Linked DNA regions of Homo sapiens: regions 2, 3, 4, 5 and 6 are each linked to region 1. Evidence: promoter capture Hi-C in human tissues and cell types (Jung and others, 2019). All regions are on one chromosome and are shown on one strand. The core of a region is centred on a gene start or on the middle of the fragment in contact, and the rest is flanking DNA. Distances in the headings are between cores, read along the strand shown.

Region 1 (4,859 bases), core at 771-3,270:
AATCCCAGCACTTTGGGCCGGCTGAGGTGGGAGGATCACGAGGTCAGGAGTTTGAGACCAGCTTGACGAATATGGTGTAACCCTGTCTCTACTTAAAATACAAAAATGACCCCAGCGTGGTGATGCACACCTGTAGTCCCAGCTACTCAGGAGGCTGAGGCAGAAGATTCACTTGAACCCGGGAGGTGGAGGTTGCAGTGAGCCGAGATTGTGCCACTGGACTCCAGCCTGGGCAACAAAGTGAGACTCTGTCTCAAAAAAAAAAATAATAATAATAATAGAAAATAAAAAATAAAATAAATAAATAAATAAATAAATAAATAAATAAAAAGTTTATCAGGGTCCTAATCCTTTCCCAGAAGGCAAACTAAAGCCTGGAGCAAGACAAGGTCTTCTCCAAGGCCACACAACTGTCAGTGACAGAGGATTCAGTTCAAAGTCCTGTCTTTTCAGGCCTGTGCCTACAAACCAACCGTTAATCTGAGTATTTCAACCTGGCCAAAGGCAACACAAAACACCCAACCCTATATTTTTGGGAAAGAAAAAAACGGGGGCAACTGAGCAGACAGACAGAGGCAAGTACAATGTGGCCTCCTAGATAAACCTCAATGCGCTTATTTCTTTTGGCACAGACACTTCCTTCTTAATTTTGAAGGAAAGTCACATCACATTACATTCTATCTGTCCCTAAGAATTAAACCCTGTTAGGTGAGCCAAACTTAAACACATTAAATTCTACAAATAGGCCAGGCACAGTGGCTCACGCCTGTAATCCCAGCACTTTGGGAGGCCAAGGCGGGCGGATCACCTGAGGTCGGGAGTTCGAGACCAGCCTGACCAACATGAGAAACCCCCGTCTCTATTAAAAATACAAAATTAGCCTGGCGTGGTGGGCCATGCTTGTAATCCCAGCTACTCGGGAGGCTGAGGGAGGAGAATAGCTTGAACCCAGGAGGCGGAGGTTGCGGTGAGCCGAGATCGCCCCATTGCACTCCAGCCTGGGCAACAAGAGCGAAACTCCGTCTCAAAAAAATAAACAAACAAATAAATTCTACAAATAGCCATTAGAATTATTAGGATAGAAAACGATGATGGGTACTAACAGATTCACTCAGAAGGAGTGGGCAGCTAATTCACATTATGTGTAGCTCTGGCTTGGAGAAGACACAGGGCTTGGAGGAGGCAAGACTGTTCAGCATGAATTAAAATTGATTTATGAGCTTGCTGTAGCACTTGGAATAGAAAAAAGAATCTTTTCAGCGCCTTTGACCCCTCTCTCAAATTACACCAGGGTGCAACTGAGGAACAACAGTGCCGACCACCCACTTTTCTCGACCCTTGGGGAAAATAACTTTTTTTTGGAAGGGAGAGTCAGTAGATGAGGCTGCATTTTCCACCAGGGAACACGAACTGCTGCGGGAAGATCCCAGCTTCTGGCTAAAGGAGCCGCAGGCCAGCTCGCCATCCAGTCCCCAGAGCCCGGGCTTTAGGTAAAGCGTGGAGATGCAAATCAGTTTCGCCGCCAAGGACCGGCCAGGCGCGTCTCCTCCCGGGCCTCGCAAGGAACAGGTCAGGGAGACGACTTCCAACTTTCTTGGCCGGACCCTAAACGTTCACCGCCCCTGCCCAGCCGCCCACTCCTGGGCAGCCAGCAAGTCTCCATTCACAAGCGGCTCCATGCTGCCCAGCACTGGCGCCCCTGAGGCGCGGAGCCCCGCAGCCAAATGACAGGACTTGGGGGCAAACAAGGACAAAAGTTCCCACCAGGTGGGCACTGCAGGAAGGAGGCCGACAACCCCGAGATTCTCCGAGTCCCGCGGCACGTGCGCTGCGACGCTGGCCGCTTCCCCCGCCGCTCGGGAAGGTCACGCCGCCCGCACACCGAGGCCCGCCCCGCGCCCCGCTCCCCGCTCCCTCTGCCTGGCGCGCTCCCCGCAGCTGCAGGCGCCAGACCGGGCTGCGCTCACCGCCGCGCCGGCGTGGCCGCGTCCAGCTCAGGCTCCGCCGCCCGCTCTCGGCTCCGGGTCGCCGGCTGGGGCGGCCACTTAACACCCACGTCGGCAACGGCCGGCCCTTCGCCCCTCCCTTCGCGCAGGCATCCCGGACTGCGGCCCCGCGAAGCTCAGGAGCGCCCCTGCGGCTGGCGGGCGGCCTGCCCAGGGCCGTGCCCGAGCCGAGACCGGGAGCCGCCACCGCCCACCGGCCCTGCCACCGCCCCCAGCACGGGAAGCGGAAGTGGGCGTGGGGCCGCGGCGCGCACAGCCAGCCCGCGACCCGGCGTGGTGCTGCCGCCGACCCTGGTGAAGGTGGAGAGCGGGGCCTGCGCCTCCGGAGACTTTCCCACCTCTGGGATCCCCGAGACCCTCTCTGAGGCCGGACCCTTGTTAGCCCGCTGGGCTGGGACTGGGGGCTGGGGGCTGGTAATGTCAGTGGTTGGGAGGACTTACTTTTTAGCTACTTTGACCTTGTTGGGAGGCTAAGGCCTTATTTATAAATTATATTTGAGTACAAAATTATACTCGGGATCCAAGGCCCTAATAGGAAATACAACTAAGTATGAAAATACAGGAATTAGCCGGGCATGGTGGCTCACGCCTGTAATCCCAGCACTGTGGGAGGCCGAGGTAGGCGGATCACCTGAGGTCAGGAGTCCAAGACCAGCCTGGCCAACATGGTGAAACCCCGTGTACTAAAATTACAAAAATTTATCCAGCGTGGTGGTGCGTGTCTGTAACCCCAGCTACTAGGGAGGCTGAGGCAGGAGAATCGCTTGAATCTGGGAGGTGAAGGTTGCAGTGAGCCAAGATTGCATCACTACACTCCAGCCTGGGCTACACAGCGAGACTCCGTTTCATAAAAACAAACAAACAACGACAAAAAAAAAAAGGTGTGGTGACACATGCCTCTATTCTTAGCTATTTGGGAGGCCAAGGCGGGAGGATCGCTTGAGGCCAGGAATTGGAGGCCGCAGTGAGCTATGATGGCACTGTTGCACTCCAGCCTGGATGACAGAGACCTCATCTCTCTCTCTCTCTCTCTCTCACCCACACACACACACACACACACACACACACACCCTCCACACAGTGTAATTTTATTTTACAACTTTAAGCCTTGTTTAGATGTGCTGTTGGATTATTATTTTTTTCTTTTTTTTTCTTTTTTTTTTTGAGACAGAGTCTCACTCTGTCACCCGAGCTGGAGTGCAATGGTGCAATCTCAGCTCACTGCAACCTCCCCCTCCTGGGTTCAAGCGATTCTCCTGCCTTAGCTTCCCAAGTAGCTGGGATTACAGGCATGCGCCACCACACCCAGCTAATTTTGTATTTTTTAGTAGAGACAGGGTTTCACCACCTTGGCCGGGCTGGTCTCGAACTCCTGACCTCAGGTGATCTGCCTGCCTCGGCCTCTCAAAGTGCTGGGATTACACGTGTGAGCCACCACGTCTGGATGTGCTATTGGATAATTACCTACGTTATTTAAGTGATTTAATTGGTGTTAGTGCTTAACATGAATGCACACTTGAGTAGACCTCCCAGGCTGTAGTAGATGCTATGATGGGATCAGAGTGCCTGGTACATGGACACTCATCAGAATCAGCACTTTAGAACTTGGGCTTCTGGACTGTAATCGAGTTACAAAAACAAGCCAGGGAGTTGGGATGACTTGTCCAAAGTGATGGGGAACATAACTAACTGAAAGCAGATCCAGCAGCTGAAACTACAGTTACAGCAGCTTAAAGGGGTTGGCAATGTCACCTGGTCCAATAGCTTTTGCAGCTTCAGAAAATGAGACCCAAAGGAACCCTGATTAAGGACAGACTTGGCTGGGTGTGGTGGCTCATGCCTGTAATCCCAACATGTTGGGAGGCTGAGGCAGGAGGATTGCTTGAGCCCAGGAGTTCGAGTTGAACCTGGGCAACACAGTGATGTAACTGCCCAATGGGTTCTTCTCGCCCGCTGCCTCAACTGAGCCAATTTATCAAGATGGGGGAATTGCAATAGAGAAACAGTTTAATTCACGCAGAACCAGCTGTGCAGGAGACCAGAGTTTTATTATTACTCAAATCAATCTCCCCAAGAATTCGGGGTTTGGAGTTTTTAGGGATAATTTGGTGGGTAGGGGGCCAGTGAGTGGGAGTACTGATTGGTCATGTTGGAGATGAAATCATAGGGAGTCTAAACTGTCCTCTTACGCTGAGTCGGTTCCTGGGTGGGGGCCACAAAACCAGATGAGGCAGTTTATCAATCTGGGTAGTGCCAGCTGATCAATCCATCAAGTACAGGCTCTGCAAAAATATCTCAATCTTATCTGTGATCTTAGGTTTTACAATAGTGATGTCATCCTGAGGAGCTATTTGGGGAGGTTTAGAATCTTGCAGTCTCCAGCTGCATGACTCCTAAACCATAATTTGTAAACTTGTGGCTAATTTGTTAGTCCTACAAGGCGGCCTAGTCCCCAGGCAGGAAGGGGGTTTGTTTTGGGAAAGGGCTGTTGTCGTCTTTGTTTCAACGCTAAACTATAATCTAAGCTCCTCCCAGAGTTAGTTGGGCCTACACCCAGAACAAGGACAGTTTGGAGGTTAGAAGCAAGATAGAGTCAGTTAGGTCAGATCTCTTTGACCATCATAATTTTCTTGGTTATAATTTTTGCAATGACAGTATCAGTGAGCCCCTGTCTTTACTAAAAATCAAAACAAAAAAAAATTTTTTTAAACCTGGTGTGGTGGCGCATGCCTGTAGTCCCAGCTACTGGGGAAGCTGTGGCAAGAGCTCTTGAGCTGTGTTCATGCCACTGCAGTCCAGCCTGGGCGACTGAGCAAGACCCTGTCAAAAAAAAAAAAAAAGGAAAGACCCTGT
Region 2 (4,859 bases), core at 833-3,332, 210 kb before region 1:
CTGTCAGTTAAACCACGATGAGAGGAACAGAGACACAGATGTACAATTGCTGCTTTAATTTGCCACTGGGGAGACCAGTTAAGCATAAAGCTAGTTTTATTAAACTTTTGTCACTTGTTGATTCGAGGGACGTTGTAGGCTTGTTTGGTATTATATGGATTGTATGCATCATGTGGTGGCAATTAGATGTTTGCTACAGCACCTAATAGGAACATATATCTTTTACATATTTAAAAGGTATTTACTTTTGTGACATTTTTTAGGCCATAAAAAAATTGGCATTTGAATTCATATATTTGATATAAATTCACTATGAAATATTAGGCTAATATTTTGATCTTGAAATTTTAGTATCTAATTATTAACTTTTATGTATTAGTATATCAGGATTCTGTAAAACTTTCAAAGCATTTTGTAGTTTACCAAGTAAATTCTTACTTGGTACAACTTCAAGATGAAAGATGAAATGGAAAGTTATAGAGGTTGACTTATCTAAGAAAATACAGTTAGTAAATGATGTTCAACTACAACTTGAATGCAGGTGTTCTGATGGTAGATCCTGTATCCCTAATGTTAGGGAAAAGGTTTGTTTTCATTAAATTCCTATTCTACCTGTTTCTCAGTGATTTTAACTTTTAGGGTCACCTTTGCTTATTCTTCCCAGAATATCCCCCACCCCCTTTCCTTTCATGTTCTCTCTCCTTGGAAAAAAACAGATGTGGGCTATTTCTTTAGAAATAAGTAACATGTTACTTCCTTATGAAGTTTTTTCAGGTTCTCACAGGTATTTACCCCTCTCTATTCATTCTGTCATCTTTTGGTTGACTTGTTTATTTACATTGTTTTGTAATTATCTGTTTACATTGTTTCTTTTTAGATGTTGAACCACTTTGGGACAAGGATCATATCTTATTTATCTTTATTTTTGTATACCCAGTAAATGGCATATAGTAGATTTCATAAATACTTGTTGGGGGAATAAATACATGCCTGATATTTATTTTCTTTTTTCTAGAATCATAAACTGGTTAAAGAACTATAATGTGAATCTTTTCTACAGGTTGCCTTTATGGTTTATTTCTAAGAAATAATTTTATTGTAAAAGTTATTTTGTACTTCAGCTCCACCCACCCCCAGTTTGTTTTTGCTGTTTATGGAAATGAGATATCTTAGTGAAATTATTAGTGTTTTCATCCTAGTTAAAAGTGGAGATAACATATTGGTCCATTAAAAAATGTAGCTGAAGAGCTTAATTATTTTAGCTCGCTAAGCATCAAAAATCTCTTACTTTTGGCTTCAATCTGGAAAAAATGTCTAGCCATTCATTGTGGTCCTGATATCTCCACTGAATAAATGGAAATAATAATTCTCTTTATTACTTTTTGCTTCTCCCTGTATTATTTTCTGTTGTCACCAAGTTTTTTGTGCCTCAGTGATTGGAGGGTTATAAATTGCAGTCGTCTTGTCAACAGAGCAATAATTTTCACAAATAGGACTTTAGCTTAGATCTGGCCATTCTAGGAATGTCTTATAAAGTTTATATATTAACAGTTTTTCCAGCCAAAAATTGATAGAAGTTACTATGTCTTTTTAAACAATAAATCTAAATGATCAAAGTCAAATTTAAGGATTTAATTTTTAAGATTGAAGGAAAAATTATGAAGCTATATGAATTTAATTTTTAAGGAGTTTTAGAAGAACCAAATAGTTATTTTGTTTATTAAAACTTAGGTAGACATGTGGAAAATAGTTTATAGGGTTTTTGAGTGTCCTTTTACATGTCAGACCTCCCTTTTTTGTGCTCTTTGTTGGGGGGTGTTGATGTATTTCTGAGTTTGGATCAGAAAAATACATATATGTACGTCACTTTGACAATAGTCAGTGAAGCTTAGCTTACCACCAGTTGGTTCTGGGAAGCAAGTACATGCATCATGTGAAATTCTATAGAATGCTAAAACAAACATATGAAAACACTAATCTTTTACTGTTTAATGAAGAATTTTAGTAAGTAAATATTAAGAAAATAAAAGGTCCTTTGATCTTGACCTAGTTTGACTTTTTAATATACACTTTACTTAATATTCTTTTAAACTGTGTTTATTAATATATAGAAAAATTTATTATATGTCTTTTGTTTTCAAGTAGCTTATAATCTTAAGAGATGGGACATAGTAAATAATTACTGAATTACATGGGAGAATGAACTTTGCCCACTTCTGCTATAGCATACATATTACTATGATTTGCATTTGCCTTAGTTGATAGATTGTAAGCGCCTGTAGGGAAAGTCTTCTTAGCTACTTGTTGCTTTCCTACCCTTCTCCCTTACCCACAAGTGTCTGGCAGATAGGTCCCTAAAGAGTGCTTGTCCAAAAGAATATAGACGACACTGATTTATTTATTTATTTATTTTTTTGAGATGGGACTTGCCTTTTTTTTTTTTTTTTTAAGGTAAGGTCTTGCTCTGTGGAGTGCAAGTGGCTCTAACCTCAGCCTCCGAAGTAGCTGGGACCACCAGCTCATGCCACCATGCCCATCTAATTTTTAATTTGTGTTGAGATGGGTTCTCGCCATGTTGCTCAGGCTGGTCTCGAATTCTTGGCCTCAAATGATCCACCCACTCTGGCCTCCCAAAGTGCTGGGATTACAGGCATGAGCCACTGCACCTCGCCCTGATATGATTTCTGCAGGCCATCTACTATTAAAATATAGGAAAAGACAATATAGGAAGAATTATTTCTTCTTCTCCAGGTATTTCTATTTATAAAGGGGATGTTTTTAAAAATCCCAGTACACAGTGTCACATTTCAGTTGGCTCAAAGTCAAAATTAAATCAAAATGAAGGCGTTGAGGTTACCCCTAAGTAAATCAGCTTTACCTGGAACAGCCTCCTTTTGGATTTATCTGTACCTATTTCCCCCCCAGATTTTCCCTTCCCCTCACCTTATATACTCACAGATCGTCTCTGAAAGGTAAAAAAACTTCTCCCCACAACTCTTAGTCCCCCATTTACTGTAGGAGACGTCACATTCTCTGTGTCCAGTTGTCAGGGGTTGGATTGTAACTAGGAGTTAGATATTGAACGAGAGAGACAGAAGTTTCTTTCATGGGTTTTAAGATAACAGCCTATGTTGCCTGACAATCCCCATTTTTTTTTTTCTTTGAAGCAAGGTCTTGCTGTTTTGCCCTGCTTGGAGTAAGTGGCTGTCTATAGTTGTGATCACAGTGCACGGCAACCTTGAACTGTTGGGCTGGAGTGATCTTCCTGCTTCAGCCCCCTGCTATGGGAGCGTGCCACTGCATCTGGCTTTACATTTTTAAAGCAGAATATTTTGAGGGGAAACAGAATGTTGTGATTAAGATCACTAGATTCTAAGCCCTATGAGGGCACAAATTTTGGTCGGTTTGTTCACTGCTGTATTCCCAGCACTTAGAACAGGGTCTCTCACGTTGTATGTCTGTTCTTATGCCAACCACGCTATTTTGGTTATTATAGCTTTATATTCTATTTTGAAGACTTGTAGTGTGGTGCTTCCAGCTTTGTTATTTGCTATTTGAGATCTTTTGTGGTTCCACAAAATATGGATGTGGTTCTCTTTTTAAAAAAAAGATAGATGGAGTCTTGCTATGTTGCCTGGGTTGGTCTCAAACTCCTGGGCTCAAGTGATCCTCCCATCTTGGCATCTCAAGGTGTTGGGATTACAAGCATGAGCCACCATGCCCAGCCTTCATATAAATAATAATTAAAAAAAAATGTTGGCCAGGCACAGTGGCTCACGCCTGTAATCCCAGCACTTTGGGAGGCCGAGGCAGGTGGATCATGAGATCATGAGTTCAAGACCAGCCTGGCCAACATGGTGAAACCCCATCTCTACTAAAAATACAAAAATTAGACAGGCGTGGTGGTGGGCACCTGTAATCCCAGCTAGTTGGGAGGCTGAGGCAGGAGAATCGCTTGAACCCGGGAGGTGGAGGTTGCAGTGAGCCGAGACTACACCATTGCACTCTGGCCTGGGCGACAGAGTGAGACTCTGTCTCAGAAAAAAAAAAAAAAGTGTTTTTCCTATTTCTGTGAAGAATGTCATTGGTATGTTGATACAGATTGCATTGAATCTGTAGATTTCTTTGCGTTGTATCTAATTATTTATTTTATGATTTATTTTTATCATCTTTCCTAATCTCCTTGAGGACGTGTCAGATTTTTGTATCTATGCAGAGATATCAGTAGTTATTAGAGATGTTTAAGGATTAAATAAAAAGCAGTATACTGTACATGTTTTACTTTGTAAACCATAAAGAACTTATTAGACATTAGGTATTGCTAGTAAATAATAATATAAATAAACCTTATTGTGATATTGTACAATTCCTGGATGTGTCTTTATAGTAAAGTATTTTTTTAAATCTAGTAAGTGCCCATTACATCTACTGAGACAACTTTGAATTCTTGAACTTTCCAAGAGTACAACAAAGCGATAAAGCAGAAAACACCTCTGATAAAGACCCAGGTTCGGCCCAGTGTGGTGGCTCACGCCTGTAATCCCAGCAATTTGGGAGGCCGAGCAAGCGGATCAATTAAGGTCAGGAGTTCAAGACCAGCCTGGCCAATGTGGCGAAACCCCGTCTCTGCTAAAAATACAAAAATTAGCCCGGTGTGGTGGCGTGCCTGTAGTTCCAGCTACTCCAGAGGCTGAGGCAGCGGGAGAATTGCTGGAGATAATGACACTGTGCTTTAGCCTGCCAAACAGAGTGAGACTCTGTCTCAAAAAAAAAAAAAAAAAAAAAAAAAAAAAAAGCCAGGTTCAATGCAGCCTCATTTGGTCAACTAATTATTTTTACAAAAGCATCTTCTGAATGTC
Region 3 (4,859 bases), core at 1,285-3,784, 190 kb after region 1:
GATTATTAGGCTCATACCTACTACTTTTCAATACTTGTCAGCTGATAAGAGGTATCTCTTAGTGGTTAGTGTCAGCAGCATTACTGGTATAATTTGTGGCCTTCTTTCACACACTAGTTTTCCACACCTCCAAGCAGGTTCAGGGCTTACGTAGCTACTGATTCATACGTACTGCTGGCAACTGACTAGAGAGGTGGAAAAGGGAGTACCTTGGGGGTTTAGGGGCTAGAAAAGGTCACCATTGGGTTGGAACCAGGAAAAAACAGAGTGCACGCCTATGATGAGCACTGTAGTTTAGGTAGAATTTCAACAGGCTGAGGCTGTATTTTTGGGCCAGATTGAGAGGAGATTCAGGGGGAGGAGCAGCCTGGACAAAGGGGAGGAATTGAGAAGTACAGTGTGGTTGGATTCGTGTGATTGGAGTTAAGGCTGGAGAATTGGGAGCCATGTCCCCATCATTTCTTTTTGAGAGTAGGGAGCTATCGAGTAGGAAATGTGTGTGTGTAATGCTGACGGTAATACTGTTAGGTTAAAGTTTTAAGCACCAACTGTGAGCGCTGGGGTGCTTAGTGTTGTAACAGAGCATCTCCAGGTACTCTGGAATTCTCTCAAAATATCCTGGAATTTTCCTTGATCAGGAAAAAAAATGATATGGTCGAGCAGTGAATTTTAAGAATTTTATTTTTCTATTTATTTACTTCTATAAACATTTGTTAGTAACTGTGTTTTATTATAGAGTTGCCCACGCAGTGTGTGGTTTTGGTGACTAAAAATGAGGATTGGATGACCATTGACTAAAAATATATATTTATATGTATTTTATATATATCAACATATACATATATATGATATATTCAGGTTTTTAAAAGTAAATGATAAAGAACATCACTAATTTTATTTTATTTTTAGTAAATCAGTAAATCAAATATGTACCAGTTTTTAAATTCTGGAAACAAAGATTCCAGGTTTCTATAGCGTTTAACAAATTATTATTCATAGCAAAATCTGCATTCCTGAGGCTGGGAACTAGAGGAAAGGGTTTGTGTCTAATAGGAACCAATTGAATTTTAGAAAGGATGTTAACATATAGCTGTTTTACTGTCTATAATGTTAAATGAATACACTTTTGGCCTCTGTCTAGAAAAAAATAACATCTTAATCTAGTGTGTGATTCTTATACATAAGACTTTTTAGGGATGACAGTAATATTTACAAATAGGTAAAAAAATATAGAGTTGTCTGGTTTAGACTCCTGTTGTCATGGCATGTTTAAAGAAGAAAGCTTCCAGCCGAGAAAGGCTTGTGATGAAGTAGCATCACCTTTCAGTTAGTTCTCTGTAGTATAGATTATGTGTATGTGTCTGCCTGGTCATAGATGCTGGTAGCTAGGTGTCCTTGCCTGATGCCAATATGATTCTGGGCTGAATGCATATGAATCCATTCTAATATAAGTGTAAATAGCACATGGGAAGATAAACCTACCAAGAGAACCACATACAGATCATATGGTTTATTCCAGAGGCAAGAATGATAAAAAAAAAAAAAGATCTGACACCAGACTAATTATGAGATAGTTGAGTGCACTCAGTCATATGTATGCTTTAAATAACATGTAGGTACATGCACATACATATACAGTATCACTATCTAGATTTTTCAAAAGATTGACTTGTAAGAACAAGTGACACACATTTAAAGTGTTAATAGTGCTTCTAGGTGGCATGTCTTGTCTTCTTTTTTTTTTTTCCTTAGTGGAAATTGCAAAATTTAGGCTAATTCTGTCACATTCAATATAAATCACACAGTTAAAAAGCCACTCTGTAGTTTTCCCAGTCTTTGCCCCATTTTGGCACATAATTGTTCGGGATAAATTTCTGTGGCGACACCATCATCTGCTCCAGCTTTCTCACCTGATCTTTGCTTCCCCAGCACACCACATCAACCCCAGTTCTTAATTCCCTTGACAAAACACACTTCATGATTGTATATGGCACTCTGACTGCTAAAGCTAAGCTCTAGTACAGTAGTTGAGTTATAGTTTTCTTGAAACTCAGTTGTGCTTTTTCAGATGTGTTTGTGCAGTAGTAATTGTTTTCCTAAGAAAAAGTTAGTTATTAAATATGAATGTGAAAATAATTATCTTTAGGAAAAACTAAGTTGAACCCCTTGAAAGACTTAAGCTGCTGATAAATTAGTTGCAGTCAGACCCTGTAAGATTAGGGGAAACCATGAAGAACTCTGTAGTTGGATTGATATGAAAGGGGTTCAGTTGGATTCCTCTTACACTTGAAAGAAACCCAAATTGTAAATCTGTGGTGACAATATACTGTGGGTTTAGGGTTTATAAGAAAGAATGGAAGCCTAGCCAGAGTATCTTGGTTCAAAGGTTTGCTGTACCTCAAGCACAGTTTCCTGTATATTTTTAAGGCAAATGTTTAAGGAATACATATATATGTACACACACACATGTACAGACACACACACATATATAAGGTATACATACTTTTTATTTATAATATATGTATATATTTAAAATCCTGTGCTTTAACTCAACCTTTTTTTTTTTTTTTTTTTTTGGATTCATCTGCCAACTAGGGTCTCCATCTGGTTTGGATTGGATTGAGATTGGATAACACCTTTCCACCTAATAGCAGCATTAAGAGCATTGACTGCCAAAAGCCATAGCTAACCTACTTTCTTTAGGATACATATTGTTTCTCCTCATTACCCTGTAATAAAATAAGATTTATCTTAAGCATGTCCTGAGAGAAGCCTAAAATGGAAATACACGGTACAGGCATCGTAAGCTGGGAGAGACCTGAAGGACCATTGGCAGCCCCCTGAATTGTAACTGAGGAAATGGCTCTGTCAGATTGAGATCTGCATTAGTGGCCTAGTTGTGGAGTGACGTAGGGAGTGAGTGTATGAGCAGAGCATGTGTGGTGTTCATTCCCATCCATCCATCACTCATCCTACATGAAGTTGCCTCTGGATTGGGACCTTGAACTCTACTAATTTTATGGTAGTGTAACTTGCAGAAGACTTACCAGGTAGGTGAGCTTGGTAGTATGTTTTGTTTTGTTTTGCATTTGGGACCATCTTCACATGTGTCAACTAAGAAGGATTTGCTGCTAACCTATACCTAAATCTCTGACACAAATCCTGGAAAAGCCTTAAATGATTGGCAGGTAGTGTTGAAAGGTGCTGTATCAGGGTTTTGTAAATCATGCCATCTAGATAGAATGCATTGTGTTGGAATGAAATTAAAACAACCATTTTAAAAAATGTAAATGACCTTGGGTAGAAAAACACGAGCATTAAGCTGTATTAGCAGGTGAAGATAAATCTCTCCCCCTTCATGTTTGAAATAATCTTTTACATTGTTTATGTGAATTTCTTTCTTTTTTTCGGGTACATTGATTATGTATCTTCCCCCACCCTCCACATTTAATCCCCTAAGGGATCGGTATTAATGAGTTTTATGCTTTGAATTTTAAAATTTTCTTGTCCTCAAAAGTGAGACTGGGGAAAAAGAGAAAAGACTTTAAACATTTTCTTTGAAAGCTTTTAGTTATCTCATATACCTATTCCTTTTGAAAATTTCTCTGTGGATAGCCGGCTTAGTTTCTTGCAAATGACTAATTTAAATGCCATAGAACATGTTTAGATTCACTGTCACATGGTTGTTCTTGCTACATTTCTTTTGCTCAGATTCATCTTCAGAAAGTGAGGGAGGGGGAAAGCATATTAAGCATATTATTCCTGCAATTAAGGCATAGATTGGCTACTTAATTTGTAGTTAGTAAAAAACTACTGTGATGGAACTCAAAATATTAATAAATTGAGAAAACCAGAATGCTTGTCTTTTGCTTTAGTGATGGGACTAAGGTTTACATGAATCTTTCTATGTCATGTAGTTTCAGCTAGTGCCTCTTGGCTCTGAAAGCTATGCATATGTAATTTCATTATTATTGATAACATAGTACCTCTCTAGAGAGTTCTAGTTACTGTATTTTTAAAATGCAAACATTTGAAAATGTAGATACAATTCTATTTTTTAAAATTAATAGGTCTGAACTGGGATCTTTGGTGATATTTCCATTTCAAAGTATTTATCAAATCAAGACATTAGTGGTAAAACAGTACTAGTACAAAGATGCTTAGGTATTGCTCTATATTTTTCAAAAGAATAACAAAGCAAGAACAACATCTTTTAGAAACGTGTCTAAAAAGGTGCCAATGTGACCAAAAAACCCATTTAATCACTGAGAATTTTAACAGAAATTTTTTAAAGTATTATATTGCAGGATCAATATTTAGTATATTGGACAATTCAGAAGATTTATTCAGGTTTGCTTGGGGATTGAGAACAAATACGTGTTTAAATCTGTATGTATAATTTAAAAATATTAGAGAAAATTTGAAAAATAGGGAAGAGTCAGCCATATTGTTTTAATTAAACAAAATGACTGCTTCTGTTTTAGCAGTGCTTCCACTTTGTTTTCTATGCGTTATCTTTTTGAAGCCACTGGTTAATGTATGTATAAAGCTTGCCAGCTTGTTTTTGATTAACAAAGTTCAGTCAGTGAATAATGTAAAATACTATTAACAGCATAACTGGAAAGTGACTTGAGCACATAAAAATCACCTTTAAGTCCAAAGTTAAATTCTTGTTTTTATGTTATTTATTGTTTTTATTTAGAGAAGAGATACGTGCCTCATCTTAGGAATTCTCATTTAATATCCTTCAAAGACTGGGCTTTAATGAACAAATTTGTCATGTGGCAGAAGTTACTGTAGTCTGATGAAAGGGAAGATGGCTGCAAAGAAGAGAAAACGGGTGGTGGGGGGCATTGAGG
Region 4 (4,859 bases), core at 843-3,342, 180 kb before region 1:
ATAAACACTAGGCTAATCTAAAAATTTATGTGCTGTTTAATAATTAATGAACACTTATTGTCTCTTACCCTTGCCAGGCCCTGCACGTGATATGCATTTTATATTTTCATCTTTAAAAGCCTGTATGGTGTGACAACTCTTGTTATCCCCATTTTACAAGTAAGGAAAACATGTATAATGAGGAATCTCAAAGAGGTTGAAGGAATGCATGTTACCCAGAAACACACAACTGTAAAGTGCCACTTGTATTGAAATTGACTGACCTGAGAGAGCCCAAACTCTTAACCATTATGCTAGGGTATAAGAGAGAAAAAGAACCATAAAGGAAAAAGAGAATATGGAAGACTATTAAGTAAATTGTCTTTTATACTGATTATATCTAGGATTAGTGCGATTTTTTACTTTTTCCCAAATACATTTATGTATAACATTTTTAAGAACTAGACTCATGTACTACACCTGTAGTCAGTAAAACTATGATGTTCTTATAATTTAGACCAATGTGTTGAGCAGTGGGTACTACAACTACATAAACTTTTCTGCCTGGTTGCTAAAACTGCTTTTTATTTTATAATAAGGAATAGGTCCCTGGGCGCAATGGCTCATGTCTGTAATCCCAGCACTTTGGGAGGCTGAGGCAGATGGACTGCTTAAGCCCAGGAGTTTGAGACCAGCCTGGGCAACATGACAAAACCCCATCTCTACAAAAAACACAAAAATTAGCTGGGTGTGGTGGCACATGCCTGTTCTCCCAGCTATTCATGTCGCTGAGGTGGAAAGATTGCTTGAGCCCCAGAGGTCAAGGCTGCAATGAGCTGTGATTGTGCCACTGTACTACAGCCTGGGCAACGGAGCAAGACCCTGTCTAAAAAAAAAAAAAAAAAGAATATAGAAAGTGTTTACAGGGAGCTTGAGTTAATCAACAGAAATATTTGGAGCTGTTTTAGTGGCATATTTTTTTAAAGTATGTGGAGAATTTGGCTATGAAGAATTCTTCACAGAAAACTTTGTACTGGGCTTTGGAAATCTATTGTACAATCCTAGCTTGCTTTGTGTAATACATCAATTCCTGAAATCATTTAAAATACACTTTGGAATTTAGAAATAGTAGAAACCATTGAGGAGGGGCACTATATGGAAAGGAAGCAATGATGTTTCATACTCTTGGAATATAAATATGTTCTGTATTATTTATTCCCAAAGATAATTATTAAAAATGTGCCATGGGGATTTGTTGAAAGGATTTCAACTTTTCACTTTGTTCACCAGTCACCCTAATTTTTTGTGTGTGTTTATCCATGTAGATGTACTGTGTGTAGCGATTTCCTTTAATTTTATCATGGTTTATATGAGGTAATGAAGGAATACCATCATAGTATTTTGAAGATGTTTTGAAGTTTTGTTTCTCCCATCAGATGGACCTCTGCTTTTTAAACTTCTTATTGAAGTGTAGCATTAATATAAAAATGTATGTCGGTAATAAGCATGCAGTTTATGAATTTTCACAAAGTGAACACACATATGTATCAACATTTGCTTTTAGTTGAAGCTAAATGTTGTTGCTAAGTGTGGATGGTTAAGGTTTGTTCACCTATGTTTTGAAAAGACTATTCTCATTAAAAATAAAACAAAATCAAATCCCAACAAAGCTTAAAGGTTAAAGAAAGCAAAAGAAATAATAAATAAAGCAAAAAATAATTAATAAACAAAAAGGACAAGGCATGGTGGCTCACACCTATAATCCCAGCACTTTGGGAGGCCGAGGCAGGAGAGGATTGCTTGAGCCTAGGAGTTTGCGACCAGCCTGGGCAACATAGAGAGACCTCATCTCTACAAAAAAAAAAAAATTAGCCAGACATGGTGGCATACGCCTATAGTCCCAGCTACTTGGGAGACTGAGGCAGGAGGATTGCATGAGCCCAGGAGTTCACAGATGCAGTGAGCTGTGATCACGCCACTGCACTCCAGCGAGGCGACAGAGCAAGACCCTGTCTCAAAAAAATAAAAACAAAACCATGCCTGTCCATGTGAGATTGTAGTAAGTCAGTTTTTGAGAGTGTTTATTTCTATCCGTATCAAATATTGAAGGGCTTTAATCATCAAAACATTTTATTTATTGCTTACTATATGCCATGCATTATCACAAATGATTTATTTACACATTATTCTTACAACAATTCCAGAAGATACTATTATTCTTATTTTGAATAGATGTAGGAACTAAAGCTTAGAGAGGCTGGATAACTTGCATGAGTTCAAATACCCAGGCCATGGTGGAGTCCTACCTTAAATAAGAACCTGAGTTTTTACTGTTACACCCTGTTCACCATGTGTGTATGTAGTGCATTTGCTGCATGGTAAGGTACTGTCAGATCGTGTTGTAATAGAGTAAGGTGCTGGGTTTTTGTTTTTTAAATCAAATGTAAAAGGAAGTGATTTCAAGAATAATTCAGAAGTCCTCAAAGCAGTGTCTTCATAGGATAAGGCTTTGGGGCCTCAGTCTGATTTGAAGGCTGGGCACAGGGATTTGTCTCAAAGATGTGTTTTCATAGCAAGTGCAGTGTTTAATTTGTGTGCTTATTGGACAGGCTTTGGAGTCAGGGGAGCTGTTGAAGACTGTGGGAGGAGTAAGGCACCAGACCCCTCTTGGTGTTTTCTTGCCTTGATGCAAAGATGTTGCGTGAACTACTCGAAGGTGTGCTCATTTTGCACCTGTCTTTAAAAAGTAGTGTCTGCTTTGGAAAAATGCTAGAGACTAAATTTAACTTGCTTTTTGTTTTGGGAAAATATTTTGTAGGTATTTCATTTTAAGCTATTTTAGAGAGGATTTTGATGGGATGTTTCACAATCACCATATACCAGATTGAGTTCTGCTATTAGAGAAACTTGGTAAACAAGTTATATGAAAGTTCTTGTGCTTTTTGATACCCAAAAACTTGATGAACAAAATTATTAATGAAGTTGGAATAATGATTCATGGTTTCTGAAATATCCACATAGGACCTTGGATTGTGGTATGTGGAACAAGCAAGCCTAGTTAGGGGAGTCACATAATGTCCTGCTTACATTGGTCGCTTTCCTTCTCTTTTTAACTTGATGGTATTGCCACATACGTGATCAACCACAAGTGGAAACTATATCGTGGACAATGTTGAAATTTGGGGAACTGTGACTCTCTTCTGCTAAAACTTGGTTTGAATTTTATTATTGCTCCAAAAATGTTTGCTGAAATTTTGCTTTCAACATATATCCTAAATTTATCTATAATTAATAGAAAGGGGAAATCTCTTTGGAGCTGTTAAGACCTTCAAGAAAGTTATGAAACAATTGAAAATTACTTTATCACTGCAGTAATTTGCTTCTAGATATTGAAGCTTTGGAAACCCTGATCTTTGATAGATTTTAGTTCCAGGAGATCTTCCCTCTCTTGTTCCCATGGTTTGTGGTTTATTTTGGTTCTGTTCAAAAACCAAAGGGGAAAATAATCTGCAAGTGACAAATAGCAAAAGATCTAATAATATAAAAATGTAATTGTTTGAATTACTAATATCCCAGATCTTAGCAAGAATAATTAGAGCTGACTCAACTTAGGGAATGCAGTTTTGAATGTTGTCATTCTTCAGAGCGGTGGTCCTGAAGCCTGGATGCAAATTGGACCCACCTGGGGAGCTTTAATATTAGGCTCTGGTCACACCCCCAGATAGTCTGATTTATTTTATCCCATGTGGGGTCAAATATTGATATTCTTAAATGTTTCCCACTGTACAGCGAAAATTGATAAGCACCAGTAGAATTTAATTAGATTTCATGATGCAAATAAAAGAAAAGATGCTTAATCTAATTATTTAAATGATGAGAGTTTTTAGAAGTGTTTGGAAGGTTTGGAAGGTCATTTTTTAAAGTAGCAGCCAGTCAAATGGAATGTAATGTTTTTGTTAAGGCATCAAAGAAGCATTGAAACCTTCATTTCTTTTTTTTTTTCTTTGAGATGAAATCTTGCTCTATCACCCAGGTTGGAGTGCAGTGGCATAATCTGGGCTCATTGCAGCCTCTGCCTACCAGATTCAAGCTTCTCATGCCTCAGGCTCCTGAGTAGCTAGGATTACAGGTGCACACCACCACACCCAGCTAATTTTTTTATTTTTTAGTAGAGATGAGGTTTCTTCATGTTGGCCAGGCTGGTCTCGAACTCCTGACCTCAGGTGATCCACCCGCTTCGGCCTCCCAAAGTGCTGGGGTTACAGGTGTGAGCCACTGCACCCGGCCAACACCTTCATTTCTTAAAAGTAGGTAACATCTTATTGCTTACTATTAGGAGTGTGGCTATTTTATGAATATCTGCTATCTTCCTGAAGCCCATCTTTTAAATAAATCTTGGGAAAGGGTCTGTTTGAAATGGTGTGGAAAAAATTGAGGTGGGTAAGATTTGATGATCTTCAGCAAAGAAACCTGAAGAGTAATATCCAATCTCAATTTAGAAACAATGAAAAGACTAGTTTATACAAGTTATTTCGGGCAGAGGGAACAAATTGTTAAATGACAGACTTAAAACCAAATTAAATTAAGTCCTATTATTGGTTGAATTGTGCCTGCGTGCACACCCACACACCAATTCATATATTGAAGTTCTAACCTCTAGTACCTCAGAGTGTAACCTTATTTGGTTGTTGGAAATAGGGTCATGGCAGATGTAATTAGTAAAGAAGTTACACTACAGGAGAGGGGAGCCCTTACTCCACTACCTGGTGTCCTTATAAAAAGGGGAAATTTGGGCTGGGTGCGGTGGCTCACACCTGTAATCCCAACACTATGGGAGGCCGAGTTGGGTGGATCGCTTGAGCTCAGGAGTTCGAGACCAG
Region 5 (4,859 bases), core at 820-3,319, 150 kb after region 1:
TTTTCGAAGATTTTTCAGATAGAAGGGAGAAAGGAAAAAACTTCTAATTAGGTCTAAATTCTTCCTCTGCTAAAGACTGGGCTAGTGGTTCTCAGCTGGTCCCTCTGACATTTGGCAATTCAAGAAACATCTTTTGTTGTCACAGCTTGGGTGGGGATGTGTTGCTACTGGCATCTAGTGATTAGAGATCAGGGGTGCTGCTAAACACCGTGCAAAGCACAGGACCGACCTCCCATAACAGAGAATTATCTGACCAGTAGTGCTGGCCACTATGTGTGTCAGTAGTGCTGAAGTTGTGAAACCCTCCCTGCTCTAGACAAAATTAGTTTATTTTTTTCCTGCATGAAAATGCCTTTGTTGCTTAGTGAGTGATTTTGAACTATTGGAATAAAAAACTGAGAGAATTCCTAACTTAGTTACTAGTGTTTTTATTTACTGCACCTAAAACTAGAAGAATGACGTGTAGGGCTCTGGACTACTGACAGGCGACCCTGTGGTAGGGCCAAGCAGGGTTAGACTGTCAGAGGGTCTGACCTCCTATTCCATCAGCCCTGAGGCTTGTGACCTCTGAAGAGATGAGTCACTCTGCTGGCTCTTGAACCTTCTCCATATCCCTGCTTCCCTTTTCATTGTCTTAGTAACTGTTGTTGTTTTTTTTTTTAAAGACAGAGTTTCCCTCTTGTTGCCCAGGCTGGAGTGCAGTGGCACTATCTGATCTCAGCTCACTGCAACCCCCTGCTCCCGGGTTCAAGCGATTCTCCTGCCTCAGCCTCCCAAGTAGCTGGGATTACAGGCACGCACCACCACACCTGGCTAATTTTTGTATTTTTAGTAGAGACGGGGTTTTACCATGTTGGTCAGGCTGGTCTCGAACTCCTGACGTCAGGTGATCCACCCGCATTGGCCTCCCAAAGTGCTTGGATTATAGGCGTGAGCCACCGTGCCTGGCCTTAGTGACTGTTCTGGAGTTACAGAGGTGGTGCGCTGCCCTGCCCCCCTTCCTTCCATTTCAGAACTTCCAGTGATGGTCTGAAGTTTCTACTGCCTTCAGTGCCTCATCACAGTATGAATACAGTGCCCATCCTTCTGATGACCACTTCTCACCACTGTCGTGAGTGGGCATGTATTTTCCTAGGACCATTGCCACCTTCTGAAACCTTAGGCCCCCTCCTCCTCCTCCCAGACTGCCTATTTTGCTGCCTTTTTTGTGAAGCTTGTTGTCTTGATTTCCTCCCCAATTGAATGGGATTTCTCTGTTTCCTTTGATTCCCCCCTTAACAGGTGTGCTCTCTCTTGGAACTTTTTGTGAGTTAGTCTCTCGCCCCCAAATCTCATTGGACTGTAAGCTTTTAAGGGCAGAATTCTATTTACTTTTCCTTTCTGGTCCCAGGAAACATCTTAATATTTAGTTTCTCACACACAATGGGAATGAAACAGACATTTAAAAATGACAAATTTTAGCTTTTTTTTTTGTTGGAGAAGCAAAAATGTATTCTTTCATATAATGTCTTCCTTACATCACTTCAACGTTCCTCTATAAGTTATCTCCTTATGGTGATGATGGTGATGCCAGAGGTTCTCATCTGGCTTGACATGTTTTTCTAGTGCATCCTTTTAAATTACTAGGTCCTTAAATTAAATGATCTGGTTCACTGCTGTCATTGTACTAAACTGACCCTAAACCAATCCTTGCTGTTCCTAAATTTAGAAACAGAAAGAACCTTCACAGCATTCCAGCCTTTCTGCCACTGAAGTCTACTGACAGAAAAACCAAATTTCAAGAATTTTTTAAAATACAAAAACTTTTAAGTGGGTAGACATATCACTGTTAACTCAGTAGTGGACTGTTGGCAGTAAAATGTGTACTACAGCTTGCAAATGACCCTAAGTGTGGTGCCTCCAGTATCTTAGTCTCATCTGTAATACAGATAAACATGAACTTTTTCTGCAGTTCTGTATAGTATTGCTTATCTAAATAACCAGTTATTCCCATAAAGTGAGTAGTTGCTGAGGAAGTCAGTATAGTAGAGTGCGTAAGTGCTTCGGTTTGCCGGTCACACTGCCTGGGTGGAGTTCTGCCTTCAGTGCTTACCAACTTTATCACTTGGGCAGTTGACCTCCTGTGCTGCTCTTTACTCGTGTGAAGAATGTAAATAGTAACTCTTATAGGTTGTTGTGAGAATTGAACAAAACATAAAATGTGTTCTAGAGTAGCGTTTGCTGTGTAGGAAGTGTTTTATAAATGGTAGCTATTATTATCATTACTTTGGTGAAGTACAGATTATATATAGAAAGCAGAAAATAGAAGGCTGACATTTTTTGAGTTGGTTAAAATTTGATAGCTAGGAAGACGTAAGGTTGAGGGTGAAATCCCAGCAGGACCTATTGTAACCTTTTTTTTTTTTTTTTTTTTTTTTTGTGATGGAGTCTCACTCTGTTGCCCAGGCTGGAGTGCAGTGGCACGATCTTGGCTCACTGCAACCTCCGCCTCCCGGGTTCAAGCTATTCTCCTGCCTCAGCCTCCTGAGTAGCTGGGACTACAGGCACGTGTCACCATGCCCGGCTAATTTTTTGTATTTTTAGTAGAGACGGGGTTTCACCGTGTTAGCCAGGATGGCCTCAATCTCCTGACCTCCTGATCCGCCTGCCTTGGCACTCCCAAAGTGCTGAGATTACAGACGTGAGCCACCGCGCTCGGCCATAAGCTTTTTACATGGGATCAATTGCCACTGCCACCAGAAAGGCTGTCACAGTGTTGAGTTGGGGTATCTTTCTGTCAAGTTTGAATCCAACCTTCCTCCACTTGTGAATGAAGTTCTTAATCTTCATGCCTCAGTTTCCTCATTTGTAAGTTGGTGCAATAATGATCAAGGGTTGTTATGAGAGCTACATAAATTAATAATACATGGTAAGGTGCCTAAAGAACAGTACCTAGCGCATAGTATTCAGGAAAAGTCACTGTTTATAATTACAGTAGTTTATTCAGCCTAGCACTTGTACTCCACCAGGTATTGTGCTAGGCTTCTTGTTATTTCCTTCTTTTAAAACAATATTATTATTATTTTTTGGCCAGGTGTGGTGGCTCACGCCTGTAATCCCAGCACTTTGGGAGTCCAAGGCGGGTGAATCACCTGAGGTCAGGAGTTTGAGACCAGCTACTAAAAATACAAAAGTCAGCTGGGTGTGGTGGTGCATGCCTGTAATCTCAGCTACTTGGGAGGCTGAGACGGGAGAATCATTTGAACCCAGGAGGTGGAGGTTGCAGTGAGCTGGGATTGTGCCACTGCACTCCAGCCTGGGCAACAAAGAGTGAAACTCTGTCTCAAAAAAAAAAAAAAAAAAAAGTTTTTGAAAAATAGAAATGGGATCTTGCTATATCGACCAGGCTGGTATTGAACTCCTGGCCTCAAGCAGTCCTCTCATATTGGCCTCCCAGAGTGCTGAGATTACAGGCATGAGCCACTGGGCCCAGCCCATTATTTTATTCTTACAGTAGCCTTTCATGGTGTAAGTATCATCAACATTTTACAGGTCAGGAAATGGAGACCCAGAGAGGTAGAGGACCCTACCTTGTTTGAGGTTGTACAGCTTGTGTGGCAAATGTTTAACAGACCCCACCATTTTGTTTTTTGTTTTTTGTTTTTTTTTTGATGGAATCTCGCTCTGTGGCCCAGGTTGGAGTAGGGTGGTGAGATCTGAGTTCACTGCAACCTCCGCCTCCCAGGTTCAAGCGATTCTCCTGCCTCCGCCTCCCAAGTAGTTGGGACTACAGGTGTACCGCACCATGCCACGCCTGGCTAATATTTGTATTTTTAGTACAGACAGGGTTTCATCATGTTGGCCAGGCTAGTTTCGAACTCCCGACCTCAGGTGATCCGCCTGCCTCAGCCTCCCAAAGGGCTGGGATTACAGGGTGAGCCACAGTGCTGGCTCCCACTGGTTTTTACAGATGGGCGCCACTGTGGGTCTGTCACATGCATGCATCTGGTCCCCAGGGAGGGGCAGCAGGTAGAGTACAGCTCATCCTGATGGCTGGGACCTCTGTCACGTCCCCAGAAGTGGGCAGGGCAGGCCCTCAGTGGAGGGGAGAGGACTCACTCTCCTCAGTGGTGTGCCTGACCATCCAGAGGCCTTTCCTGCACAAGGCATCAGCCTTATTGACTGTAGAGGGCAGTGATTAGAGGTGAGAAATTTAGCTTAAGGGATTGCCCAGACATGACATCTCAATTTTCCTCTGTAAAAATACTCTTCCAGACTCGTGGTAATGAAAATATTTTCATTGTAGTCTTAGCAGGTTATTTGTTTGACAAGCAGATTATAAAGCTGAGTAAAAGCAAAACTGACCAGGATGATGATATTTTGAAAACTGACTCAGTGATGTAAACAGTGCTTCTACCTGGTCCCCATGGATGCAGTATTAAACTGGAAATTAAGTCCTTAAAAGTCCTTAACCTTCGTGGGTTAAAGTGTTCTTTATCAGGAACAGTTTTTTTTTCCCCTAAATGTTAAGCTTGTAATGATTCTGTGATGCTGCAGAATTACAGCATTACTTGTAGACTTAGTAGCATATAGCAAAAAATTTATCTTAAATTTACTCCTGTGTTTCTTCGTAGGAGGAATAAACAGTGAATGGGAACCAGTATTTTTCAAAAATTTTTTTGGTTAATGAAGAACTAGGTATTACGATTTCTTTGTCTGATATCTAATACTTTGTTTCAGGCAATAAAGAACAATGCCATATGCCTTACCAGGTAGATTTTTATATAAATGATTGCTTATGAATTGTAAATGATATGAGTTGGGTTTAGAGGTTTAGATTTTAATGAATGATGCTAAATTGATGTTGAAATTGTAGAGGG
Region 6 (4,859 bases), core at 970-3,469, 150 kb before region 1:
TTCTTGATATACTGCAGTGGATCTTATTGCTGCCACATGCTTATTAGATACATTTGCCAAATTCTTAAAACTGATAGTAAAGTAGACCAAGAAACTCGTTTGAGTGATTTTCACTTACCTGTCAAAATAATCTATTCTTTTCATTTAATAAAGAGACTCTTGGAAGAATTTAACCAGGTTAGATTTTCAGTTCATAGACCCTTTAATATGTTGTCTTGAAATTCAAGCATTTGTATAACTGTTGCCCAAATTTGAAGAAAACTGTTATGGCCGACCTGCTGGCTCTAATCTAAAGAGAACTACTGTTGAGAGAGTTCACAAAGAGACAGAAAAAAATTATCTCAAAGTACTTTCTCCTAAATCATCACAAATCTTATGACAAGATTGCTTTGTTCACATATTTTATATGGGACTCATAAAAAGATCTTTATTAGATGCTAAAAATTATGACCATTATATCACCCATACTAACTAAATTATGTCACCAATACTAACTGAATTATGTAATATTTTTGTATAAATATAAATGGCACTTCTAAGACTTTTAGTTGTCTTTTTTGAGGTTCTTTTAAATGAAATTTTGGTCATTTAGAAAGAAATTGTTTTTGTTTCAGGAAACACAATTTATCTTTGGGAGTTTTTACTGGCACTGCTCCAGGACAAGGCTACTTGTCCTAAATACATCAAGTGGACCCAGCGAGAGAAAGGCATTTTTAAATTGGTGGATTCTAAAGCAGTGTCCAGGTTGTGGGGGAAGCACAAAAACAAACCTGATATGAATTATGAGACCATGGGAAGAGCACTCAGGTATGCGAAGTTTTGGTATTTTATTGTGTTAAGAATATCATTTTCTAAATTGTAAAAAAAAATACTAAGCTTAAGTTCAGCAAAGCACCAATAGTGGTAATGCAAATACATAATAAGAGGGTACATTTTCAGTCAGGTGCGGTGGCTCATGCCTGTAATCCCAACACTTTGGGAGGCTGAGGCCGGTGGATTGCTTGAGTCCAGGAGTTTAAGACCAGCCTGGGCAACATGGCAAAACCCTGTCTCTACTAAAAATACAAAAAATTAGCCAGGCGTGGTGGTATGCACCTGTGGTCCCAGCTACTCGGCAGGCTGAGGTGGGAGAATCACCTGAGCCCGGGAGGTTGAGGCTGCAGTGATCCAGATTGTACTACTGAACTCCAGCTTGGGCAACTGGAGTGAGACCCTGTCTCAAAAAAAAAGAGGGTGCATTCTCAAACATGAATTGCAAGTATGATATGTTAGTTATTATAGTAGAATAAATCAGTGCTTCAGGAGTACTACTAGAAATCATGAGAATTTTGAACAAGAGTAACATTCTTAAGCTCACTTTTAGTTCGTTTTTCGGTGATTCTGTCATTTATCCTTCAAGATACGCATGTATTTGAGAAAGATGTATTGGAAATAAGAACGATCTGAATGACTTTTAGGGGATAGACAGATATAGATATAAAATTTAGCAGTCTTAAACTAAAACTCTTTAATTACAGTTTTTGGGTTTTTTTAACATACACTTTTTAAGTTCTTGATTTTGTTAAAATAGATGACAAAAGTTGGATCACTGCTATTGCATATGGTTAAATTTTATACACAAAAGTCAATCAAATTTACTGAATCAAATTTAAACTGATACATTTGCCAATTTAAATTTATTGAATCAAATTTAAACTGATAAAATTTGCCTAGTAGGAACATTTCTAGAAAGCCGTGGAGGAGAAACAATTTCTTGAGGCTTTTGGTAGTTTTGATTATCCTGGCAAGTTGGCAGAGGGGGGCTGAGTGTGGTGGCTCGCTTCTATAATCCCAGCATTTTGGGAGCCTGAGAAGGAAGGATCGTTTCAGCCTGGGAGTTCCAGATCAGCCTGGGCAACATGGCAAAACCCAGTCTCTGCCAAAAAATGCAAAAATTAGCCACGTGTGGTAGCATGCGCCTGTGGTCCCAGCTACTGAGGAGGCTGACGTGGAAAGATTGCTTAAGGCCAGGAGTTCAAGGCTGCAGTGAGCTGTGATCATGCCACTGCACTCCAGCCTGGGCAACAGAGCAAGACTCTGTCTCCAAATAAATAAGTAAATAAGTTAGCAGAAAGAGGAAGAAAAGTGAAAGACCAGAGGATTCCACATAGTTTATCAACAGTCCCCCAATCAGCATTAGTTTTAGATTTAGTTGGTAATAAGAACTTATCTCTATCTGTGCATAAATGTATGTTTATCTCATATAAAATAACAGCCCTTTATTTAGAAATTCTTTTCTCATTAGTTTGATTCCAACTTTAAAGTTTTGTTTATGATTAGGGAAATTTGATTTTGTTGAATATTTTAATTGATGTTTGATTGATTGATGAAATTGTCTGCTTTGAATAGGTACTATTACCAAAGGGGTATTCTGGCAAAAGTGGAAGGTCAGCGCTTGGTGTATCAGTTTAAAGAAATGCCAAAAGATCTTATATATATAAATGATGAGGATCCAAGTTCCAGCATAGAGTCTTCAGATCCATCGCTATCTTCATCAGCCACTTCAAATAGGAATCAAACCAGCCGGTCGAGAGTATCTTCAAGTCCAGGGGTAAAAGGAGGAGCCACTACAGTTCTAAAACCAGGGAATTCTAAAGCTGCAAAACCCAAAGATCCTGTGGAAGTTGCACAACCATCAGAAGTTTTGAGGACAGTGCAGCCCACGCAGTCTCCATATCCTACCCAGCTCTTCCGGACTGTTCATGTAGTACAGCCAGTACAGGCTGTCCCAGAGGGAGAAGCAGCTAGAACCAGTACCATGCAGGATGAAACATTAAATTCTTCCGTTCAGAGTATTAGGTGAGAAAACCAAACTACTGATGCTTATCACTTCAATATGTTTCTGACCAGAGACATTATTTGTTAAGTGGGTCAAGATTCAGAAATGAAAATAAAAGTATAAAGGTTTCAAGCTAGAATTCTTGGTTACCAGATTTTTCAGGAGCAGTTACTATTATGTCAGTCCTCTGATTATGCCACTGGTCCCTTTATTTACATTTTGACATTACTGGCATTATTCTGTCAAATACTACACCTTTGTATAACTGGATTGATACATATAAGAAATTATCTAGATGGGAGAAAATCCAGGGTTTCAAATCTTTATTCAGGCCAAGTCAGAAGCTTCAAAAATTCAACATAAATTGACATATTAGGACATTGAGAGTGCATAGAGTTCCAAGCAATAAATGTTATTCCTTGGAAGATCCTATCTTCGAACAATTCTAAAGTTCAAATAGGAAGGGAGGCCAAGAATCTAAGGTCCTCTTTTAGAGTGGCAGAAGTTGAAAAAGTAGGTTTGTTTTTTTTTTTTTTTTTTTTTTTTTTTTTTTTCAGTTAAATCAGATTTGCCTCAGAGCCCCAGGATGAGATGCTAAACAACAAATTGACTGAGAGGATCTGTCTGCCTTAGACTGATCTGCAGAAATTTGGGACTAGTCTCAGCTGACTTAGAATGGGAGTATGGGAGGAAGGCAGAAAATTATATGGATATTTGTAGCATTTTTCTGTTTATACTGTCATGAATTTCTAGAACATGAACCATAATAAAATCTAGCAGCCCTTTCAAAGCCAATAAAAATTATTATTTGATTACTTTTATTAGCAAACTTCAGTCTTACATTTTTATATTCCAGAATATAAATGTGGAGGTTTTGCTCAGTTGATCTTGGAGTAAGGTAACATTACCTAGAATCAAGGCAGACTTAGAAGATTCAGTCTTCTTTGTATAGACAATTTAAAATGTTTGACCTTGTGAAAATATTCTCTTAAATCTTCACTTGATTTGCAAGGAGTACAAAGATGACCTTTACATTTTTAATTGGATGCTACATCTTTTAACTGTTATTAAAGGAGTATATCTTGAGTAGCCCTTATCCAAAATGCCTGGGACCAGAAATATTTTGGATTTAGAATTGTTTCGGATTTTGAATCGTTGCATTATACTTACCCGGCACAGCATCCCAAATCCAAAAATCTGAGATCCACAATGCTCCCGTGAGCATTTCCTTTGAGCATCTTATTGGTGCTCAAAAAGTTTCATATTTTAGATTTCAGATTTTCGGATTTGGGATGCTCAGTGGGTGCTTATTTAACTCTTACTGTCCGTATTCTCCCCTTAATGTTTTATATTTCCCTAGGCCCTGTGGGTTACAGGTGATGACTGGGTGTCTGGTTGGGAGTGTGTGGTTCCTCCCATTGGTTTCTAGGCTGTTTGTTGTTTGTATTTGTGTTGATAGGAGACCTACAGTGGCCACAGCTGATTCCATGGAATTTTTTTAGCATCTGTATTCAAAATATTCTTTTTAGACTGTGAGAATAAAACCAAAACAAAAAACTCTAGCTTTGAAAGATACTAAATTGTAGATATTATAGAGTAGGTTTTTGTTTTGTTTTGTTTTTTTGAGACAAAGTCTAGCTAGCTTTGTTGCCTAGGCTGGAGTGTAATGACACCATCATAGCTCACTGCATCCTACTTCCAGGACTCAAGCAGTCCTCTCACCTCAGCCTTCCTCATAGCTGGGACTACAGGCATGTCCAGCTAATTTTTTAATTTTTTGTAGAAATGGGGTTTTACTTTGTTGGTCTTGAACCAAGACCAACCAAGCAATCCTACCACCTTGGCCTCCTGAAGTGCTGGGATTATAAGTGTGAGCCACTGCATCTGGCCTAGAATGGTTTTTTATTAGGACAAGTTCTGGTTTTGTTATTTCTTATATTTTTTGTTTGCATTTTTGTAATTACCCAACCTTTTACTATGGAAAATTTCAAAGTATGGAAAAATTCAGCTAGTACTATGAACACTTATTTACTATCCACCT

The links. The method cuts DNA at HindIII sites, captures the fragments that hold promoters and counts their contacts. A contact is called where the count stands out against the background at its distance.
Region 2: a contact is called between a fragment that was not itself captured here and the fragment with the promoter of SLC25A15 in region 1, in 1 of the 25 tissues and cell types used here (lymphoblastoid cells).
Region 3: a contact is called between a fragment that was not itself captured here and the fragment with the promoter of SLC25A15 in region 1, in 1 of the 25 tissues and cell types used here (small bowel).
Region 4: a fragment that was not itself captured here is called in contact with the fragment with the promoter of SLC25A15 in region 1 in 3 of the 25 tissues and cell types used here (dorsolateral prefrontal cortex, lymphoblastoid cells and spleen).
Region 5: a fragment that was not itself captured here is called in contact with the fragment with the promoter of SLC25A15 in region 1 in 1 of the 25 tissues and cell types used here (spleen).
Region 6: a fragment that was not itself captured here is called in contact with the fragment with the promoter of SLC25A15 in region 1 in 1 of the 25 tissues and cell types used here (stomach).

Annotation. Positions count from the first base shown.
Region 1 is chr13:40,786,772-40,791,630 of GRCh38, reverse strand. It overlaps SLC25A15 (solute carrier family 25 member 15), which reads right to left and starts at 2,020. Exons shown (of 7, transcript NM_014252.4): 1 at 1,968-2,020. RefSeq lists silencers at 444-738, 1,871-2,450. The HindIII fragment of the contact is 20,114 bases long and covers 1-4,859 here.
Region 2 is chr13:41,000,174-41,005,032 of GRCh38, reverse strand. The region is part of intron 1 of ELF1 (E74 like ETS transcription factor 1); the gene reads left to right. Among named protein-coding and RNA genes, the nearest start is that of ELF1, 17 kb to the left of the region's middle. The HindIII fragment of the contact is 4,925 bases long and covers 1-4,544 here.
Region 3 is chr13:40,601,071-40,605,929 of GRCh38, reverse strand. The region is part of intron 1 of FOXO1 (forkhead box O1); the gene reads left to right. Among named protein-coding and RNA genes, the nearest start is that of FOXO1, 63 kb to the left of the region's middle. The HindIII fragment of the contact is 4,823 bases long and covers 123-4,859 here.
Region 4 is chr13:40,964,747-40,969,605 of GRCh38, reverse strand. All of the region lies in intron 2 of ELF1 (E74 like ETS transcription factor 1), which reads left to right. Among named protein-coding and RNA genes, the nearest start is that of ELF1, 52 kb to the left of the region's middle. The HindIII fragment of the contact is 3,260 bases long and covers 463-3,722 here.
Region 5 is chr13:40,635,003-40,639,861 of GRCh38, reverse strand. The region is part of intron 1 of FOXO1 (forkhead box O1); the gene reads left to right. Among named protein-coding and RNA genes, the nearest start is that of FOXO1, 29 kb to the left of the region's middle. The HindIII fragment of the contact is 3,078 bases long and covers 531-3,608 here.
Region 6 is chr13:40,938,900-40,943,758 of GRCh38, reverse strand. It overlaps ELF1 (E74 like ETS transcription factor 1), which reads left to right. Exons shown (of 9, transcript NM_172373.4): 7 at 615-807; 8 at 2,389-2,838. Among named protein-coding and RNA genes, the nearest start is that of ELF1, 78 kb to the left of the region's middle. The HindIII fragment of the contact is 4,134 bases long and covers 153-4,286 here.